Linked DNA regions of Homo sapiens: all the other regions are linked to region 3. The links are contacts of gene promoters, found by promoter capture Hi-C in human tissues and cell types (Jung and others, 2019). All regions are on one chromosome and are shown on one strand. Each heading gives the region's core, a stretch centred on a gene start or on the middle of the fragment in contact. The rest is flanking DNA. Distances are from core to core; before and after follow the strand shown.

What was found. Contacts are between HindIII fragments. The study calls those that stand out against the background at their distance.
Region 1: a fragment that was not itself captured here is called in contact with the fragment with the promoter of DMWD in region 3 in 1 of the 25 tissues and cell types used here (adrenal gland).
Region 2: a fragment that was not itself captured here is called in contact with the fragment with the promoter of DMWD in region 3 in 1 of the 25 tissues and cell types used here (hippocampus).

The regions. Positions count from the first base shown.
Region 1 is chr19:47,035,482-47,039,341 of GRCh38, forward strand. It overlaps NPAS1 (neuronal PAS domain protein 1), which reads left to right. Exons shown (of 12, transcript NM_002517.4): 6 at 483-648; 7 at 3,555-3,670. Among named protein-coding and RNA genes, the nearest start is that of TMEM160, 11 kb to the right of the region's middle. The HindIII fragment of the contact is 4,479 bases long and covers 1-3,490 here.
Region 2 is chr19:46,893,246-46,897,628 of GRCh38, forward strand. All of the region lies in intron 1 of ARHGAP35 (Rho GTPase activating protein 35), which reads left to right. Among named protein-coding and RNA genes, the nearest start is that of ARHGAP35, 34 kb to the left of the region's middle. The HindIII fragment of the contact is 4,402 bases long and covers 1-3,776 here.
Region 3 is chr19:45,790,953-45,795,426 of GRCh38, forward strand. DMWD (DM1 locus, WD repeat containing) reads right to left here and starts at 1,893. Exons shown (of 5, transcript NM_004943.2): 1 at 1,364-1,893; 2 at 1-135. The coding sequence starts at 1,804. RefSeq lists enhancers at 264-323, 344-393 and a silencer at 1,542-2,021. The HindIII fragment of the contact is 5,315 bases long and covers 626-4,474 here.

The sequences.
Region 1 (3,860 bases), core at 1-2,500, 1.2 Mb after region 3:
GCTAGGAGAGAGATTTACGGGTAGAATTGAATGTAAAAGTGTCTGATTGAAAAGCTCTAACTCTTTAAGAGCTTAAAAACCACTCCCCTGTTTGTATCTTGAATCTCATTCCTGCTGGGACACCCAGTGATTCATGCCAGGGCACAGTTGTTTGCTGTATGGGGGTGGTAGTGAGTAAGCAGGAGTTGGGTAAACGGAGGTTCTGACACCTCCCACCCACGCCCCACTCCCACACACAGCCCCTTAATAGAGTGGGCGGGGAAAAATCCTTACTAATCACTGGGTATGAAGCGAGAAGAGTCTAAGTTTGTATCTTCCGTTTGAAAGGTAATTGTTTTTTGTTTTTTTCTTTTCTTAAAAAAACACACTGGCATGAAGCGCACCTGCGTGCAGGCAAATGAGGCAAGGCTGAGCCCAGAGGGCGAGCGAGTTACTGCGCGCGCACCTCACCCGCCCCCTGCATTCCCCTCCTTCGCCGGCAGGTGGAGATGACGGGCAGCAGCGTCTTCGACTACATTCACCCTGGGGACCACTCAGAGGTGCTGGAGCAACTGGGGCTGCGGACGCCGACGCCCGGCCCCCCAACCCCGCCCTCCGTCTCCTCTTCCTCCTCCTCTTCCTCTTCGCTTGCAGATACCCCCGAGATCGGTAATTCTAAGGGCTCCTAAAGAATGAAGTCTGAGGGTAGATCGGGGGACGCCCGCTGTACTGTATCCAGCCATGCCGCGTTTATACAAATAGCAGTGAAGTTAGAACTGTGTAGAACGAATCTTTGCAAAAGGAATCGGAGTATAAATTGAGGCGGTGAGACTTGGTTCCTTAAGCTTGCCAAACTCCCAAAGATTCGAGCTACAGAAAGACCCCCCTGGCTGCTGAAAGGAGTTGGGAGAGGCTTAGGTAAATAACAAGGCAGGCTTATTGGGAATATACACCGGCTGTGTCTGTAAGTGCACAATCACATTACATAATTACGTTAGGGCCGGGCGCGGCGGCTCGCGCCTGTAACCCCGGCACTTCGGGAGGCCCAGGGGGGCGGATCACTTGAGCTCGGTTGGAGACCAGCCTGGGCAACATAGTGAAACCTCATCTCTACAAAAATTACAAAAAAGGCCAGGAGTGGTGGCACAAAGCTGTAGCCCCAGCACTTTGGGAGGCCGAGGCGGGTGGGTCACCTAAAGTCAGGAGTTTGAGACCAGCCTGGCTTGCATAGTGAAACCCCATCTCTACTAAAAATACAAAAAAAAAAAAAAAATTAGCTGGGTATGGTGGGGGGTGCCTGAGTCCCAGCTACTCGGGAGGCTGAGGCAGAAGGATCACTTGAACCCAGGAGATGGATGTTGCAGTGAGCAGAGATTGTGCCACTGCACTCCAGCCTGGGCGAGTCCAAGACTGTCTCCAAAAAAAACAACAACAACAAAAGAAAGAAAAAAACATTAGCTGGGCATGATGACACATGCCAGTGGTCCCAGCTACTTGGGAGGTGGGAGGATGGCTTGAGCCTTGGGGACAGAGGTTGCAGTGAGGAGATCACGTTGCTGCACTCCAGCCCGGGTGACAGAGCCAGTGTCTGGAAAAAAAAAAAAAAAAAGGCTGGGTGCGGTGGCTCACGCCTGTAATCCCAGCACTTTGGGAGGCCGAAGTGGGCGGATCACCTGAGGTCGGGAGTTCGAGACCAGCCTGGCCAGCATGGTGAAACCCCATCTCTACTAAAAATACAAAAATTAGCCGGGCGTGGTGCAGGTGCCTGTGATCCCAGATACTCAGGATGCTGAGGCAGGAGAATCGCTTGAACCTGGGAGGTGGAGGTTGCACTGAGCCGAGATCAGGCCATTGCACTCTGAGTGAGACTCCGTCTCCAAAAAAAAAAAAAAAAAAAAAAAAAAAAAATTGCATTAGATCCTAAGCGCAGGCCCACAATGCAAGAAGTGTTATCTCCATTTTACATCAGAAAACTGAGGCACGGCGCGGAGAGGTTAAGTTAATTGCCCCCAGGTCACACAGCTATAAGTGATTGAGTTGGATTCTAGCCCAGGTCTGTCTGTTCCGGGGTCAGCACGCCTAACCCTTCTCTCCAGTGGAAATTTCCACTCCCACTGTGTATGGGAGGGAGGGTGCTGCAGATTACCCTGCCGGCTCTTTTTAGCTCTGAGATGTTGGGGGCCTATGAGGCTAACTATCCTGTAAATAGGATTTTCCAATCTTGGGTTTGCTTAACACCAAAAACATCTGAGACATCAGCTGTGCTTGCAAGCGTGGGGCGAAGTCTGCAACACGTGCAGGCTGTTGGGGAGTGGGACTGTGTTTGTACCTGAGTTTTAGGCACAGGGTCATCTGTGTGTGAGCATATTTTTAAGACCGTTTTGTAGGGGTTACAGAAGGATCTGGATTTGTGAGTCTTATTTATTGCTATTCCCCAATCCCCTGTTCTGGGCCAGCCCCTGTCCTGGTGACATAGGAGTGACCATGACAGCTCCAGCCCCACCCACCTGGGGCTCCCAGTCCAGTGAGGGGAGACCAACCTGTCCTCAGACAGTGGCAACCCAGATGGGGCAGGGCTGGGATAGGGGAACCCAGAGGGGATGGCTGACCCAGCCTGAGGGTCAGGGAGGGCTTCTTGGAGGAGGAGAAGTCTGTGCTGAGACCTGGAGGATGGGTCCTGAGAGGTGGGCTTTCCTCTCAAGGCCTCAGGAAGCTATGGCAGGTTCAGAGCAGGGGAGGGTGGAGGCACGTTTGAGCATTAGAAAGACGTAGATGGGGCCAGGCGCAGTGGCTCACGCCTGTAATCCCAGCACTTTGGGAGGCCGAGGCGGCCAGATCACGAGGTCAAGAGATTGAGACCATCCTGGCCAACATGGCGATACCCCGTCTCTACTAAAAATACAAAAACTAGCTGGGCATGATGGCGCGTGCCTGTAATTCCAGCTACTCAGGAAGCTGAGGCAGGAGAATCACTTGAACTGGGGAGACGGAGGTCGCAGTAGGCCGAGATCGTGCCACTGCACTCTAGCCTGGTGACAGAGCGAGACTCCAGCTCAAAAAAAAAAAAAAAAAAGACATGGATGGGACCAGACATGGTGGCTCACACATGTAATCGTAGCACCTTGGGAGGCCAAGGAGGGCAGATCCCTTGAAGTCAGGAGTTCAAAACCAGCCTGGCCAACATGGCAAAACCCCGTCTCTACTAAAAATACAAAAATTAGTCGGGCATGGTAGCATGTGCCTGTAATCCCAGCTACTTGGGAGGCTGAGGCAGAAGAATCACTTGAACCCAGGAGGCGGAGGTTGCAGTGAGCCAAGATTGCGCCATTCACTCCAGCCTGGACAACAGAGTGATATTCAGTCTCAAAAAAAAAAAGAAAGGATGCGGATGGCTGCCACATAGGGGAGCCCACATACTGTCCCCATGAGCTTTCAAAATCATCAGGCATGCCTCTGAGTGCGGCCGTGGCCCAGCGGACATCTTGTGTCTATGTCCGGCTGGCTCTGCAAGGGTCAGGGTGGCCTGTGTGTTTCCTCTTCAGGACCCCATAACCTTCCTTCACTCTCTGTCCCAGAGGCCAGCCTCACCAAGGTGCCCCCCTCCTCCCTGGTCCAGGAGCGCTCCTTCTTTGTCCGCATGAAATCCACGCTCACCAAGAGGGGGCTGCACGTCAAGGCCTCAGGGTACAAGGTGGGTGTGAGCAGTCAGGCTCCTGTATTCCAGGCAGCCATGTCCCCAGATTGAGGGTGACCGAGGGAACCAGGCTGGTGGCTTCACTGGCTGCAGGTGGCTTAGGGAACTGGGTCTGGGAATGGGACTGGGGGGGTCACACAGTGTCCAGTCCTCCAGCACCTGTGGGGGACAGAGGGAACCCAGCCCA
Region 2 (4,383 bases), core at 326-2,825, 1.1 Mb after region 3:
ACAGGTAGCCAGCCATAAGGTCTTGGCCAGGTCATATCACTTCTGGACTGGAGTTAACACCTTCAAAAACTGTTCGGGTTGGACTTTTTGAACATATAATAGAGGTGATGTTGATGAGCATCTACCGTATACCAGGTACTACTCTAGGTCCTGGGAATATAGTAGGTTGCCACCAGACAAGACCCCTTCTTTTCTAGTGGGAAGCATTGGGTGGGAAGTTAGTCCTTTCTAGCCTTAAAATGCTGTGATTCTGTCATCTGAAGAATGGGCACCAACTTCTGCTTGGGATTGTTTTGAGGATCAAATGAGAAAGCACTTTAAAGATTATAAAACACACTTACCTTGTTTATTATGAATACTTCTCTCCCCCCTTGGTTTTGCCCCCCTTGGTTTTGACTTAGGTTTTTTAAAAGTTTAAAATTGAATTGTACCAATAGGAGTATGAACTAATGATCCCAGGGTTTAGGTAGATTTGGGGACTTAAATCTTTCAATAAGTGATCCTTTAGCTAGATTGGGATGTAGGTTTGTAATATCATCTTCACCAGTGAAAAATGTATTGGGGGGGAAGTCCATTTATTTATGGATATTTTGGATATTTTGTTTCTGCCTTAACATAAGTTCGTTCGTTCGTTCTTTCTCTTTTTTTTTTTTTTTTTTTAAGATTTCAAACTGTCTCTGCCATTATTCTTAAATACAACTTTATATTGGTGAAGGCTGCTTGTCAGGGAAAAACCAAACTTCTCTACTGATTTGGGATTTTTTTTTACCATAAATTCAGGGTGCAGTTGTTCTTGAAGTGGTTCCATTTTGTGATTAGGCTGAGTATTTTTAAGCACAACTCTCTCCCTTGTCCTTAGAATTATCTCCAGTATCCTCAAAACAAAGAGCAAATGATGCAATTAGGATGCAATCCCTTGCCTGTGGATTTCAAGGAAAATTATTTTCCACACTACTTGGAAGCTCATGGACAAAGTCAAGCTTTCTTTAGATCTGGTGAACTTAGAAAAAATAACTTGATGAAGTGAGATTCTTACCTTGAGGTTAGTTTTTGAGAGTGGATCAATGATGTGAAATTTCTAAGATATTCTTGATTTATAAATATCACTTTATGACTCATTCCTTGGAGCAGTTTTTATTTTTTCCTTTGAAAAACTTTAGATGTAATTGACTTTGGTTTACACTCTATCCTGTTTTTTGGTTTTTTTTTTTTTTTTTTTGGAGACGGAGTCGCTCTGTTGCCCAGGCTGGAGTGCAGTGGCACGATCTCTGCTCACTGTAACCTCTGCCTCCTGGGTTCAAGCGATTCTCCTGCCTCAGCCTCTCGAGTAGCTGGGACTACAGGTATGTGCCACCACACCCAGCTAATTTTTGTATTTTTATTGGAGATGGGATTTCACCATGTTGACCAGGCTGGTCTAGAACTCCTGACCTCAGGTGATCTGCCCGCCTCAGCCTCCCAAAATGCTGGGATTACAGGTGCAAGCCACCACGCCCGGCCATACTTTTAGTGAAAGGAAAGCCATGTATCTTTTTCTGCTGTCTCCTATGTCATGTCTTACTCTGCCGTTTTGTAATGGTCCTTGAGATTGAGATAATAGAGAGAGATTTTCTAGATTTTCACCTACTCACTGATTTTTACTACAGGCATTTTAATTCCTTTAAATTTGAGACTGATTTTCTTCCCATAGTATTTAACTTATCATCATCCTTATAGGAGGGCCAGACCCTTAGGATTTATGTGAATACTGCTAGTTGGTAGGAAAGGTACTTTTCCTGAAGCCTTGAAAGAGTATTTCCAGAATAGTGAGCTTCATATTTTTTTGGTAACTTTTTTTTAAAGGTATACTTTCTGTGTAAATAGAAATGAATTTTTGCAATTGGATGAGGGGGAAAAAAGCTGAAATTTAAGGGCAAAATCTTTTTTTTTTTTTTTTGAGACGGAGTCTCGCTCTGTCACCCAGGCTGGAGTCCAGTGGCGCGATCTCGGCTCACTGCAAGCTCCACCTCCCGGGTTCACGCCATTCTCCTGCTTCAGCCTCCCGAGTAGCTGGGACTACAGGCGCTCACCACCACGCCCGGCTAATTTTTTTGTATTGTTAGTAGAGGCGGGGTTTCACCGTGTTAGCCAGGATAGTCTTCGATCTCCTGACCTCGTGATCCACCCGCCTCGGCCTCCCAAAGTGCTGGGATTACAGGCGTGAGCCACCGCGCCCAGCCGGGCAAAATCTTATAGCATCTTATCCCTTCTATGGTTTGGGAAATTAAGAAAAGTGCACGTTGGTGTTTTCTCACAATTTAATGCTCAGGCAAGTAAAATGATATCCTTAATTGCAAGTTACTGAAGTTGAAAGGCGACCATTTCCCATCAATTAGAAATGGTCTTTATGGTTAACTCTGGCAGAAATTCTGTTCTTCTGTGAGGCTTGGGTGATATCAGTAATCCTATTGAGGAGAGAGCATATTGAATCCTCTGACTTTGGGCAAATAATTTAGTCTCCAGGTCCCAATGCCCTTGTCTGTGAAATGAAGAGAATACTTACCCTTCCCGGGTGGATTTAAAAATCTGTGAGGAAGGCCAGGTGCGGTGGCTCATGCCTGTAATCCCAGCACTTTGGGAGGCTGAGGCAGGCGGATCTCCTGAGGTCAAGAGTTTGAGACCAGCCTGGCCAACATGGTGAAACCCCATCTCTACTAAAAATACGTAATTGGCTGGGCTTAGTGGCACATGCCTGTAGTCCCAGCTACTCGGGAGGCTGAGGCAGGAGAATCGCTTAAACCCAGGAAGCAGAGGTTTCAGTGAGCCAAGATCGCGCCACTGCACTCCATCCTCGGTGACAAGAATGAAACCCCGTCTCAAAAAAAAAGCTATAAGGAAGCCCAGCACAGTGGCTCACACCTGTAATCCCAAGCACTTTGGGAGGCCTAGGTGGGAGGATCACTTGAACTCAGGAGTTCAGACCAGCCTAGGCAACATGGTGAAACCCTGTTTCTACAAAAAATTAGCCAGGCGTGATGGTGTGCACCTGTAGTCCCAGCTGAGGTGTATCACCGGAGCCCGGGAGGTCAAGGCTGCAGTGAGTGGTTATTGCGCCACTGCACCTGCACTCCAACCTGGGCAACAGCAAGTCCCTGTCTCAAATAAAAGCTAAGAAGGCAAGTTTTGTAATAGTACTTTGAGCAGCATAAGGTACATATACAAAATATTGTGGGAAATATATTATGAAGTTTTGCATCTAGGTACATAAGAGACTGTTTCCCTCACAGTGGAGAGCTTTGGTAAAAGAGCAAGTGGATTAGAGCAGTTGTAGCTTCTGTTTTCTCCAGAAAGCTCACGCTGTGCAGCAGCTGTTTTTGTCCATTCTGGCTTTGCAGCAGTGCAGTATTGGGGTTAAGCCACGTGTGTGGGCCTCAGAGGCAGGCAGCTGGGGCCATACTAAGCCGGGTGATCTTGAACGAGTCTCTTGACCTCTGCAAGCCTGTTTTCTCATCTGTAAAATGGGGATTATAATAGTAGCTGCTCTGTTGGGTTACTGTGAGAAATGCTTAATATGGATTGTAGGGCATGATTTCCTATGGTAAGGTTTTTAGAAGTAATAATGGACCAGCTAAAAATGTTCAAGCATTTATCTACTGGGCATGTTGTCTTTTTTTCTTTCTTTCTTTTGAGACAGCTTCTTGTTCTGTCACTCAGTCTGGAGTGCATTGGCGCGATCTTAGCTCACTGCAACCTCCGCCTCCCAGGCTCAAGGGATCCTCCCACCTCAGCCTCCCAAGTAGCTGGGACTACAAGCGCATGCCACCACACCTGGCTAATTTTTTTTTTTTTTTTTTTGGTAGAGATAGGGTTTTGCCATGTTGCCAGACTGGTCTTGAACTCCTAAACTCAAACAATCCACCCGCCTCAGCCTCCCAAAGTGCTGGGGTTACAGGCGTGAGCCATCGCGCCCAGCCTTCAGCATGTTGTCAAAGGAAGTATGAAAATGACAACAACTGATGGCCCATTTTCATCAGTCATCCTGGAAATCAGCAAGAGTCAAGCTGCTTTGTGCACTTATTGGGGTGCACTTATTTTCTCCAAGGTGTCCATTTCATGAGGCATTTTTTGTTAATGGAAAGCTGGGTTAGCAAATGCAGTGATGAAGGGCCATAAGTATAGTTTTAGTAGTTGTTAACCCTTGAAGGTAGTGGGTTTATTTTGTCTTTTTTTTTTTTTTTACGACCTCCAACACTTTCTATTTATCTTGGCTTAATATAATACCTGAAAATGAATTTTAGTTAAGACTTAGAGATTTGTCTAAACAATCTCCAAGCAGGTTGAAAACTGAGACTTTCAAGAGCCAGGGGATTTGAGTGTATTCTGGATTAACTTGGTTCTTCATCT
Region 3 (4,474 bases), core at 643-3,142:
CTGCACTTGACCCGCTGAGAAGCCCACCAGCAGCGAGATGGTCTCGGTGGCAGCAGTGAACTGGTTGAAATCGTGGCAGGTGGGCTGGGTGCCCTTGTAGATCCGCTTGTCAATTGGCTTGTTGAGGTCAATGGACTTGAGGGGTGGGAGAAAAGGAGTTAATGGTGTATGCCACTGAGGAGAAGGAAGAGGATGTTGAGGTTGGGGGAAACCACTAAGAGGAAGCAGGGTTAGAACCCAGAGGGAAGTGGGGAGGTGAGTAGGTGGATTGCGAAGGACGGGGCAACCACAGACGGGAAGGGGACCCAAATCACAGACAAGAGTAGCAAAAAAGATGGTAAGGATCCCCCTTGACCACAGTGCCTCCCCAAAGTTGGGTCACCTCTAATTCAGAGACACCCTTGTCCACATAATCAGGGTTCTGGGTCCACACAGTTCCTAAGCTCCGATTCCTTTTAGCCTCACCACTCCATCCTATAACCTCAGCAACTCCCTTGGGACCTAGTACCACACTATTCCAAGACCCCCAAACCTTGAGGTCACCCAAATTTCCAGGACTCTAAAGCCTAACATCCTAGCATTCTCTTCACTTTGTAGTCCCTAAACCGCCACAGTTCTGGGACCCGTCAAACCTCACGGTCTCCCACATTTTAGGCCCATTTATTACCTAGGGGCTCCGAAGGATCCCCATCATTTCTGGGATCACCATAAACGGCCAGGGTTCTCACCACATCGCTTTAGAGATGTCCTGAATCACACCTGCAGATTCCCCTGCCAGGGCCTCTCATTCCCTTGAGAGCTCCCATCAGCTTCCGGACGCTCATCTCCTCCAGGACCCTCATGACTTCCAGACCCCAATTTTCTCTAGAATCCCATTCAGCTTCTGGATCCCCTATCACCTTCAAGGCCCCCATCACTTCTAGACTTCTCCTCATTCCTGGGCTCAATCTCAAGACCCCTCTCCCACACCTCCAGGCTGCAATACTGGGTTCTCCATCACCTCTGGGCTTGCATCACCTCATGATTCCCCATTACCTGCAGAATGCCTGCCACCCCAGAACCCGGGGGATCCCACCTCATCTCAGATACCCCATCATGTCCAATAGTCACCATCCCAGAACTCCTACGCATAACGGGGGTAAAGGGGATTTCCCCCATCACCTCCAAGATGCCTGCCCAGCACCCCGCGGGCCTCTCATCACATTTCAGAATCCTGTACTCCCTCCAATGCTGTCGCCCTACAACGTCCATCACATTTAGAATGCCTATCTCAGGGCCCCATATCAATTCGGGGACCCTCCTATCAGTTCTCTGGAACCTCCATCCTTTCAGCACCCAGGGCCCCACGATGCAGGCCGCTCACCCGTTGGCTCCCACGACGACAGCAGCCTGGGTAGAAATAGAGCTCACGGCCCAAGTTGAAGCAGACGCGGTCTCCCCCCGAGCCCAGCCCCGCGGGCGTGGCGGGCGGCTCCCCGGCCCCGGCGCTGTCCGGCTCCCCGAGGCGCACGAGGCTGAGGCGCACGGCGGGCAGGGCGGGCCCGGGTCCGGGGCCTGCGGGCGGCGGGGACGACGCGGGGCCTGCAGCGCCGGGACCGGAGGCGGAGGCAGGGCCGGGCGGGGGCTGCGGTGGCTGAGGCGGCACCGGAGTCTGGGCGGAAGCCGGACCCGACCTGCGAGCGGCGCCGTCGCCCGGGAGTAGCTTGTAGAAACCCTCGCGCGTGCGGAATTGCGACTTAATCTCCGCGCAGTCCCCCATGGCGGCGCCGGGGCCCGAGCCGCCCTCCGCGCCGCCCGCCGCCATCTTGGGCGCCCCCCGGGCCCCGCCACTGCCGGACTGCCGCCCGCAGCCGGGCCCCCTCCCGGAAGCCGCTGGCCCGCGCCGGAAAAGGTGGGGTCGTCGCCCGGGCAACGCCTCTTCGATTGGCACCCAGATCCGGAGGCGGGACGAATCCCCGCGGTCGCTCGGGTAACGGTGCTGGGACTGTGGGCGGGGCGAGAAGGTGGGCGCGGCCTTTGAGCCTGTGACCGACTTGTGGTTGGCTGCGGGGGCGGAGCCCGCAATGGAAAGAGGCGTGGCCAGTTAGAAAGCTCAAGTCCTTAGCAACCGCGCCCTGGGAACGTTTGCCTAGCAACGGAGGGATTTTTTTTTTTTTTTCCCCCACGACAAAGAAGCCCTCATCCATAGTCCAGCCTTCCCATGAAGTCACAGCCAACCCCAAGTGACCCTGGTCTCTCCTTAGACGCCCAATATACACTCCCCTGACCTCCAGTGTTTCCCACTGACATATTCAAATCCCTGAATGACCACAGCATCTGCTACCATTCTTCCCCACCCTTGGTGACCCACCAAATCCCTGTGTCCCCACACAACTCAGAGGACTTCCTCTGACCCACTATTGATTAATGCTAACTCCAAACATCCTTCATATTTTCCACCAACCTCCAATGTATATTTCCATGATTTTCTTATTTTCAACAACCTCACTTGTCCTCCAAAACCTACCTCTGATTCCCAAATTGTATTGATCCCCACGGTGCCCCAGTGTCCCAGTGATCCACTCGTAACCCAAAGTCTCCCCCTGATCCCAACAGCTCCTACTCATAGCCAGTGCTCCCCATGTCTGCTGAAGCCACCCAGCCCCATCATAGATCTTTCTAGTCTCATGTAGTCAATGGCCTCTACGATTTCTCCCTAGAGTGTCCCAAGGGCATCTCACACTTAAAAAAAAAAATCCTACAATGGTTCGGGCATGGTGGCTCATGCCTGGAATCCGAGAATCCCAGCACTTTGGGAGGCTGAGGTGGGAGGATCGTTTGAGCCCAGGAGATCAAGACTGCTATGAATTCACATCACTGCACTAAAGCCTGGGGGACAGAGTCAGACTCAGTCTCTCTAAAAAAAAAAAAAAAAGAAAGAAAAAAGAATCCTACAATGAAATTGACGTCTTACACCAAATCCTCCACCTCTCTTGCATCCCCACCTTAGGGCTAGCTCTGCCGTCCACTCAGTCAACCAGGCCACAGACCTGGGTGTCTTCCTAGATGTGTACCATTTATCTTCACTCTGCCCCCGCTTACAGCCTCCAAGTCTTTTGCATTCGACCACGTGGAATTCCTCTTTCTCAGTTCCTTGTTCTCCCTGATCCAAGCTTCTCCTCTACCCAAGCCCTTCCCCCACCCCCACATCAACCGTGTCTCTTGGTCTCCCAGATTTCTGTCTCACCCCCACTTCCACCTTTCACTTGGCATGTAGAGAGGTTTTATTTTGTTTTTGTTTTTGTTTTTTTTGAGACAGTCTCACCCTGTCACCCAGGCTGGAGTGCAATGGCTCCATCTCGGCTCAGAGACGGGGTTTCACCATGTTGGCCAGTCTGGTCTCGAACTCCTGACCTCAGGTGATCCACCCACCTCGGCCTCCCAAAGTGCTGGGAGTACAGGCATGAGCCACTGCACCCGGCTTTTTTTTTTTTTTTTTTTTTTTTTGAGACAGAGTCTCGCTCTTGTCACGTGGGCTGGAGTGCAATGGGACGATTTTGGCTCACTGCAACCTCTGCCTCCTGGGTTCAAGTGATTCTCCTGCCTTAGCCTCCTGAGTGGCTGGGATTACAGGCACCTGCCACCACACCCAGCTACTTTTTTGTAGTTTTAGTAGAGACGGGGTTTCACCATGTTGGGCATGCTGGTCTCAAACTCCTGACCTCAGGTGATCCGCCAACCTTGGCCTCCCTAAGTGCTGGGATTACATGTGTGACCCACTGCACTAGGCCTAGAGAGGTCTTTCTAAAGCATGAATATGATCAGGGCCCTCCCCTGCTCAAAACCCATCTGTAGCTCCCTAGTGCTCTCAGGGGAAAGTTAAGCCCCAAGTGATCTGGCCCCTGCCAACCTCTTTTCAATCTCATATCTCACCACTAACTCCTCACACTATCCACCACCTAAAATGAGGCTTGAAAAACTACCCCAACATATCACACTCTCTCTTGTCCTTGGGTCTTTGCACATTCTGTTCCCTATTCTTGGAATGCCTTTCCCCATTCTTTTCTTGACCCTTTAAGAGTTGGCTCGGGAGCTCTGTCAGTCCTCTGGGCTTCCCCATTTGGGCTGTCACTGTCTGGAAATGAGTCTCTCTCCCTATAGTGTTGTGAGGTCCAGGAAGGCAGGACTGCAGCTGTCTGTGTCCCCAGCACAGGGGTGGGCTGACAGGAGGTATTTCAATAATGGTTTGATGGCTAGGTAAATGAATAAATAAAACAGGTGGGGCTGGTCGCGGTGGCTCACAGCTGTATCCTAACACTTTGGGAGGCCAAGACAGGCAGATCGCTTGATGCCAGGAGTTCAAGACCAGCTTGGGCAACATAAACCCCATCTCATAGTGAGACTCTGAAAAATTGAAAAAATTTAGCTGGGCATGGTGGGCTGTGCCTGCAGTCCTAGTTACTCAGGACCCTGTCTCTACAAAAAATACAAAAAT